3 separate regions of the Homo sapiens genome follow, and regions 2 and 3 are each linked to region 1. Evidence: promoter capture Hi-C in 16 types of primary human blood cells and fetal thymus (Javierre and others, 2016). All regions are on one chromosome and are shown on one strand. The core of a region is centred on a gene start or on the middle of the fragment in contact, and the rest is flanking DNA. Distances in the headings are between cores, read along the strand shown.

Region 1 (2,608 bases), core at 28-2,527:
AATATGCAACTCTGGAGACACAATCAAAGTACTGGTATCAAGCTTGGAGAAAATGCTGCTTTTGTCTCAGGGGCAGCCAGTGATAAAAACAGGAACTTTACACAGAACTGATCACAACTGCCCCAGAAGCCTGATCACATGCCCACAACGGAGCACTGTGTTTCTCTCATTGTTGTACAAGGAGTTCTCTAATAACAGTGGCTTGATTTATCCCATTTTTTTTTTTTAATTCTGAAAATAAATCGAACCCTCCCTGTCCCAATCCATTGTCAAAAGAAAGAATGCCAGCCAGGATTTGCAAGTAAACGGTAGCCTCCTCTCCTTCCTTCATCAAAGACTCCAAAAGGTGACCAGATGCGGAAAATTCGGCCCGAATAACAGGCACCAGGAAAAAAAAAAACTTCTTATGACAAAGGTGGTCTAAAAGCAGCACCGTGTGTCTCTCTGGGTTAATGCCATTGCTTCTTATCTTCCTAGGACCCTAAATGGCTCACCCGCTTGTGTCTCACTCCTGTCACTGGGGAGGCATCGCGCATTGTTAAAGGAAAGAGAAGAAATGATGCTGCGGATTTCCCATGTGTCTCTTTTTGAAAGGGGGAAGGGGGGGCTGGAACAAGGCGTGGAGCCCTCCACGAAAAGGGGAGAGGAAAGGAGAAAGCTGTCAGCCACCCTCCTCGCAGCCCTACCCCTCACCCCACCTGGGCCAGACGCCTGGGCAGAAGCGGGAGGGCGCAGCTTTGTCTCGGGTTTTGGGGGGCAGGAAGCGCAGAAGCAGTGTGGGCCCGGGAGGACCTTTCCACAAGCCCTTACTTAGTCCCCTCCATGGGAAAACAATGAAAGCCACAGGAAACCACTTAATGGGGTGGGAGAGGAGGGAAAACGGTCGTGGAGCGCCAGGCCAGGTTCTCTACACCCTCGTCCCCCTCGCCGCACGGCCGCCAGAGCGCGCGGCGGGGACCTGTCTCCCAAGTCGCCGCGATCCGCAGGGCCCCGGGCGCCCTCTCCCCGGCCCGGCTCCTACCCTCCGAGAGCTCCAGCTCCAGCTCCGCCAGCTGCGCCCGCACTTCAGGCGGCAGCGCCGCCACCGCGGCCGGCGACGGCTCCAGGCCTCGTTCCGCCATCCCAGCTCCGCCAGCCACACTCCGGAAGACAAGAGAGGGGGCCGAAGGAGGGACGGACAGACACGGGCCCACACCCGGCTACAGGATCCGGCTCCGGCCGCCGAGCACCACCAGCACCGCCGCCGCCGCCGCCGCCGCCATGAGCAAAGGTCACGTGAGCGCGACGGCCCCCGCCCCCCGGCCAGGAGGACGCACCGCCTCTCCAGCCCAGTCAGGCTGAAGACGCATATGCTTACGGCGCCCTCTACTGGGAAGCTACCAGAACGACGGGCCCAAGCCCACCACTCGAATTTCCCTGCGCGAAATGGGCTCATGGTATGGACTGTCGGCTTTACCACAGTAGTGTGGACACATAGCATTTACCTTTCACTCTCGAGCAAGTTTTTAGGGGTCCCAGGCCTTACTTTTTCCAATACTAGACTTAGCAATGTATGTCTATCGTGTCCTTTACTCCATTTTCCCTGATTAATACCTGCCCATTTATAAAAACCTAATCACAGGCCACCTCCTTCGCTGTGGCTCCTGGTCCTATCTGCCAGGAGCTCTGTTTCCGTTTCAGTTTTAGCTTTTAAAAAGACAGGCGCGGTGGCTCTCGCCTGTAATCCTAGCACTTTGGGAGGCTGAGGCTGGTGGATCACCTGAGGTTAAGAGTACCAGGCTAGCCGACCGGGCGCGGTGGCTCACGCCTGTAATCCCAGCACTTTGGGAGGCCGAGACGGGTGGATCACGAAGTCAGGAGATCGAGACCATCCTGGCTGACACGGTGAAACCCCGTCTCTACTAAAAGTACAAAAAATTAGCCGGGCGTGGTGGCGGGCGCCTGTAGTCCCAGCTACTCGGGAGGCTGAGGCAGGAGAATGGCGTGAACCCGGGAGGCGGAGCTTGCAGTGAGCCAAGATCACGCCACTGCACTCCAGCCTGAGCGTGAGCGCGAGACTCCGACTCAAAAAAAAAAAAAAAAGAGTACTAGGCCAGCCTGGCCAACATGGTGAAACCCCGTCTCCAATAAAAATACAAAAATTAGCCGGGCGTGGTGGCGGATGCCTGTACTCCTAGCTACTCAAGAGGCTGAGGCAGGAGAATCACTTGAACCCAGGAGGCAGAGGTTACAGTAAGCTGAGATCGCGTCATTGCACTCCAGCCCGGGCAAGAGAGCAAACACTCCGTCTAAAGAAAAGAAAAAGACAATAGAGAGCAGGTCCACTTCTTTCTTTCTATACTTCTAACTACTTACAAGGAGGGAACTTACTTTAACTCATCCTCCTCACTCTGTGGCCTAATAGGTGTTCCAAAAACATTAATTTTAATTTAATATGAAGAGGGTCCAAGGCTAGGTGCAGTGGCTCACACCTATGATCCCAGCACTTTGGGAGGCCAAGGTGGGCGGATCACCTGAGGTCAAGAGTTCGAGACCAGCCTGGCCAACATGGCGAAACCCCGTCTCTACTAAAAACACAAAAATTAGCCGGGAGTAGTGGCACATGCCT
Region 2 (2,608 bases), core at 45-2,544, 540 kb before region 1:
CAAGTATTATGTAGGGCTATTGCCACTACAACATACTACCTAATATAGATTCATAACAAGGGTTAGACCTCATTTTCCTATGGGTAAGTCAACTGATACATCACAGGGCAGGTCTATACAGCCACAGATCCCTGCCGTGTGCAAGGCAAAAAATTTCTACTATAGCCAGGTGTGTGGTTAAGAAAGTACGAGAACATACCTATATTCTCCCTCCCTCATGTTGCTGTCATAAGTTGTTTCTCATAACATCTTTCTAGAAACATTCTCAAGAAGTGCTAATTTATAGGAATTAGTTTAAGGCGCAGGCATTTATGAAATATAAGATATCTCGGCTCACATCCCCATAGCAGAACCTGCAAATGATCTTATTTATGCTAACTCTTTGACCCTGCCCAAGAGCTGATTCCGGAATTTCTATTGTAGTTTCGTTTTTACCTTTCATGAAGATTGTGTACAGGACATAGAAGCGGGGGAAATGACGACCCAAGAAACGATGGTATTTCCCATTAATCGCTTTTGTCTTGGTTACCACATAAGACATCAAGTTCTTCACATCTGCCTTTGGAGAAAGGTGAAGCTTTGAAGACCTACAAGGAAGATCAAAGAGACTATCTGGGAATCAGTCCTAGAAGCTCCCTCACGCCTTGAGTCCCTAATGTAAAGCAGGAGTCTCGGAGATTGTATCCCAAGGCTTGACACTTCTGAAATCCAAGGAAGGTCTTGGGGTCAAGAAGAGATAGGCAATCAGACTGTGAAACACAAATCAGGCAAAGGCCAGGCAGGAAAGTAACTCAGGGTATGCCTCTGGAGAGAGCGCAATGCCTGTGGGACAATTTGAACTGCAGGCTAAGTCAGAAAGAGGTGGAATCGAGATAGCAGCGGTAAAACCTGAGCCGAAAAAGTGAGGCTGAAAGATGAGCTCAGGACACGCGGGGAAACCAGACAATATGGGGCACTGAGAGTACAGAGGGTCAGGAAGCCGGGTCACTAGTGGGGATCGGAGTTTGAATCCTGAACAGAAGAATAAAAATTCCAGGGCCAAGGCGTGGAACTCTGAGAATTAAGAGACAGAATGCAAGCAAGGTTGAGACACTGAAAGAGCCTGGACGTCAAAAATGCTTTTCTCGCTACAGGTCCCTCACCGAGGGGCCCCCCAAGCCAGGCCAGAGCGACCAAGTTGCAGCCTCCGGGTGACAAAATGTCCAGGGGTGACTGCCGAGCCCCACACAGCCGACCGAGCCCAGCACACCCTGGAGAGCGCCATCTTCACAGCGAGAGAAGCGGGAGAGAAGAGGTTGTCTTTGGGTCAAAGTTAACCGTACGTCGCGTTCGTTCGAAGACGCATGCGTCTTTTCTGAGCGCTGATTGGTAGCCATAGCCTGCTTGGCTCCAGCACAAGCCAGGAGAGGGAAGGACTCAAAGACTAAGTGCGGAAGGAGGGCCAGGATTGGACACAGCAGTACTTCCAGGTTTAAAGGCGCCGGAAACAGGGTGTCCCAGAGGGAGCGAGTTCTTATGCCACTGGTGTGGGTTTGCGACGCGGAGGGCACCCTGTCCTTGAGGCGCCCAGTGACCCTCCGCGATTCCTTAGGGCCTCAGGGCTTCCCAGCGCCGCCCTTGCCCTCTGCCTGGACTCGGGGCGTCGGAGCCTCGACTGTTAGGTAGCAGATGTCAGTTTGCCAGTGCCTGGGGCTAGGAGGACCCGCGGCGCCCTCTAATGGTGCCGGCGTGGATAGGCCGGGAACTGTCCACTTTCCAGTCAGTCTGGCGGCGAAGGTTGGAGGCCTGGGAGCGGCCCCTGTGCGGACTGAGTACACTTTTTCCTCTCTTTGTCGTTTCCAGAACTAAGTTTGTGGGAAAATGGTTTTCGTTAAGCACCTACCGAAGACCAAGCTCTGTCTCAACTTAAATGTTACTATTCTGAGAGGATTTCTGTGACCACCCTATCTGAAGCAGTGCCGGCGAAAAGGACACACTTCACACTTATTCTCATGTTACTCTGTTTTGTTTTGTTTTGTTGTTTTGTTTTTGTGACAGTTTTGCTCTGTCGCCCCGGCTGGAGTGCAGTGGCGCGATCTTGGCTCACTGCAGCCTCCGCCTCCCGGGTTCAAGCGATTCTCCTGCCTCAGCCTCCCGAGTATCTGGGATTACAGGCGTCCGCCACCACGCCCGGCTAATTTTTGTATTTTTAGTAGAGACGGGATCTCACTATGTTGGTCAGGCTGGTCTTCAACTCCTGGCCTCAAGTGATCCGCCAGCCTTGGCCTCCCAAAGTGCTGGGATTACAGGCGTGAGCCACTGCACCCGGCCTTGTATTTTCTTTGTAGCATCTGTCACTTACAGTGTTTATGTATTTGTGTCCTTGTTTGACAGCTCCCTGAACTAGAATGAGGGTAAGCATCTTCTCTGCCTTGTTCATTGCTGCACCTCCAACACTAGGTGCCTTACTTAGCACATAGTAGGTGTTCAGTAAACATGTTTGAATAGATTCATACTTGAAACTAAGAAGGATTCCCAGAAGTGGTACTTAACTGCCTCCAAGAATTAACAGTCCTCTTGGATATATATGAATATTTATTCTTCATGGAAGGTGGTAGAGCATCCCATG
Region 3 (2,608 bases), core at 31-2,530, 520 kb before region 1:
TTAGGCCATTTATTCCCTCTTCACCAGTTTGGCAGTCTCATCTTCAGAGCAAAAGATACGGTGTGAGGCTGAAACTGGCGATAGAGTGGGATTGCTTTTGGGTAGGTAGGATGAAGTCTGGGGAGAATCGAGTCAGCTGGGCGAGGAGGAAAACAATTCACTACGGAGGCTTGGGAGGACACCTAAGGCGGTCAAACTGGCTGCACTAGCTGATGTTTCTCGGTTCCTCCCAGGTGTGGGGTGCTCTTGGTGGGGCAGCAGATACTATGATGTGGCTCTGGGGGCGCGAGGAAATGTTCCTTCCAGGTGGCTATCCTTTTTTTTTGAGACAGGGTTTTGCTCTGCCACCCAGGCTGGAGTGCAGTGGCACGATCTTGTCTCACCGCAGCCTCCACCTCCCAGGCCCAAGTGATTCTCCCACCTCAGCCCCCGAGTAGCTGGGACCACAGGCGGGCGCCGTGATGCCTGGCTAATTTTTTTTTTTTTTTAGACGGAGTTTTCGCTCTTGTTTCCAAGGCTGGAGTGCAATGGCGCGATCTCGGCTCACTGCACCTCCGCCTCCCGGGTTCAAGCGATTCTCTTGCCTCAGCCTCCCGAGTAGCTGGGATTACAGGCATGCGCCACCACGCCCGGCTAATTTTGTATTTTTAGTAAAGACGGGGTTTCTCCATGTTGGTCAGGCTGGTCTCAAACTCCCGATCTCAGGTGATTCGCCCGCCTGGGCCCTCCAAAGTGCTGGGAGTACAGGCGTGAGCCACCGCGCCCGGCCTTTGCTTGGCTAATTTTAAAATTTTTTGTAGAGACCGGGTCTCACTATGTTGCCCAGGCTGGTATCGAACTCCTGGACTCAAGTGATCCTCCCGCCTCGGTCTCCCAAAGTGCTGGGCATTACAAGTGTGAGCCTCCGCGCCTGGCCTGGCTACCCTTTACAGGATAGAGCTATACCTCGTAGCTTGATTGTCAGTACCTAACGTGGCGCCACGGCGAACTAGGGCAGGAATCTTATCTGTCCCCAGACTGCTAGCGGACTGGAGCTCCCCAGTCCAGGGGCTGTGTGGGTCTGGCCAACGCAAGCAGCAACTAGGCAGCATGCAGCTCCCGCCGGGTGCCCCAGGGGCCGCCGCGTGCCCCAGGGGCCGCCGCATCCAGACTCCGCGTGGGCGGAGCCTAGGTCCCTGGTCTGCGGGCCACGCATCCCGGCCGCTGCAGGGACTCCAGCCAATAGGGATGTGCGGCTGCCGTCCTGTCGACCAATCGCGGGGAGGGGAGGGCGTTAGCCAGCGTGGCGCTGGCTCCCGGAATATGGAGCCCTGGGCGCGGGGGCGGCGTGTCAGGTGGTTGCGGAGCTGGTAAGGTGAGGGGAAGGCAAGGTCAGGGGTCACGGCATTCCGCTCGCTGGCAGGGAGGGGCGCGGGGCGGCTCGAGGGCCTGTGTCGGGGGTCAGGCTCCGGGGCTAGGATGCGACACCGGCTCGCCGTGCGGGGCTGTGAGGGGAGGTGTGGCCAGGGAGGGCCTCAGGCCCAGAGTCCAGGACTGATGGAGTCGCGCCATTCAGAGAAAGACCCAAAGATGGGGGCAGGGAGGGAACGCCGGAGGTCGCGGGGGTCTCGCCCCTTCCCCGCCGCGGCCTAGGACACATGGCCCAGCTCCCAGCTGCACCGGATGGCGCGCCCGGCCTGTGTCGGGGTGCGCTGACCTGCTTCGACGCCTCGAAAGAGGCCGACGGGCACAGGGCAAGGTCTTTCGTGGCCTCTTCGTCGGCGCCGCAGGGGGCCGGGCTGCTCTCCGGGGCCTCCCGCCGCCCCGCTTCAACAAAAGACTCATTATAACCTAACCGACTTCAGGGAGCGCCTTCTGTGTGAATAGCCTGCATACGCGGCTCAGTAATTGTGGGTAGATTGGTTTTAAGGCTGTTTGTGTAGCTCTCAGGGACCCTCTGGATTCCAGGCTCCAATGAGCAGGGTTTTTCTACAGGGGGATATTGCACATATGTAAGTGGGCTGGATGGCTCTCCCAGCTGTGCGTTTCATGTGTCCCCACTTTTAAAGCTACCGCTTAAATGTGACATCTCTTGCAAAAGCAAAAATTATATGGAAGGAGAGTTTGCAAGGGGAGATAGGCTTCTAAAAACTTGCTGGCCTCAATTTTAGTGACTGTTGGTGAAAAATGGAGAAGCTATGTTTACACTGACTTCTGGAACCCGAAGCCCCACCAGTTCGCATGATTTCTTGGCTTTGTAAATCTTTGAGCATGTTGTTTGCCTCTTTCTTCTTTTGTTCCACGTACTTAAAATGGGGATTGATAATATCAGTCTTACAGGGTTGTTGGTATGAAATTAGTTAATAAACAACAAAGTACTTAGAACTCTTGATGTGGAGGAGTTTTTGTTGTTGTTACCTTCTTTCCCCTTAACACTTCTAAAGAATTCTAACCTTATTACTTATTCTTTGCTCAGAGTCTCATGACTTATCACCAGTGAACCCGCCGGCCTATACTTTCCATTGACATCATTAACTTTGATCTGAGGGTATAGTGTAGTTATATGTGACTAGAGGATTTCTGCTGCGTGTTTGTTTTATTAAATACGGTTGGAAACTATCATTATACT

Evidence for each region. Contacts are between HindIII fragments. The CHiCAGO score rates a contact against its expected background, and 5 or more counts as called.
Region 2: a contact is called between the fragment with the promoter of LETMD1 here and the fragment with the promoter of DIP2B in region 1, in 1 of 17 cell types (endothelial precursors). The highest score is 5.1, in endothelial precursors.
Region 3: a contact is called between the fragment with the promoter of SLC11A2 here and the fragment with the promoter of DIP2B in region 1, in 2 of 17 cell types (fetal thymus and megakaryocytes). The highest score is 9.5, in fetal thymus.

Annotation. Positions count from the first base shown.
Region 1 is chr12:50,503,654-50,506,261 of GRCh38, reverse strand. It overlaps DIP2B (disco interacting protein 2 homolog B), which reads right to left and starts at 1,277. Exons shown (of 38, transcript NM_173602.3): 1 at 1,022-1,277. The coding sequence starts at 1,121. RefSeq lists a silencer at 865-974. The HindIII fragment of the contact is 3,121 bases long and covers 45-2,608 here.
Region 2 is chr12:51,047,013-51,049,620 of GRCh38, reverse strand. It overlaps LETMD1 (LETM1 domain containing 1), which reads right to left and starts at 1,294. Exons shown (of 9, transcript NM_015416.5): 1 at 1,143-1,294; 2 at 436-587. The coding sequence starts at 1,264. RefSeq lists enhancers at 511-1,049, 1,250-1,299, 1,050-1,588, 1,410-1,679, 1,770-1,849 and 1 more. The HindIII fragment of the contact is 4,204 bases long and covers 580-2,608 here.
Region 3 is chr12:51,025,056-51,027,663 of GRCh38, reverse strand. SLC11A2 (solute carrier family 11 member 2) reads left to right here and starts at 1,280. Exons shown (of 16, transcript NM_000617.3): 1 at 1,280-1,354. RefSeq lists silencers at 900-1,619, 1,630-1,689 and enhancers at 1,095-1,706, 1,707-2,320. The HindIII fragment of the contact is 11,669 bases long and covers 1-2,608 here.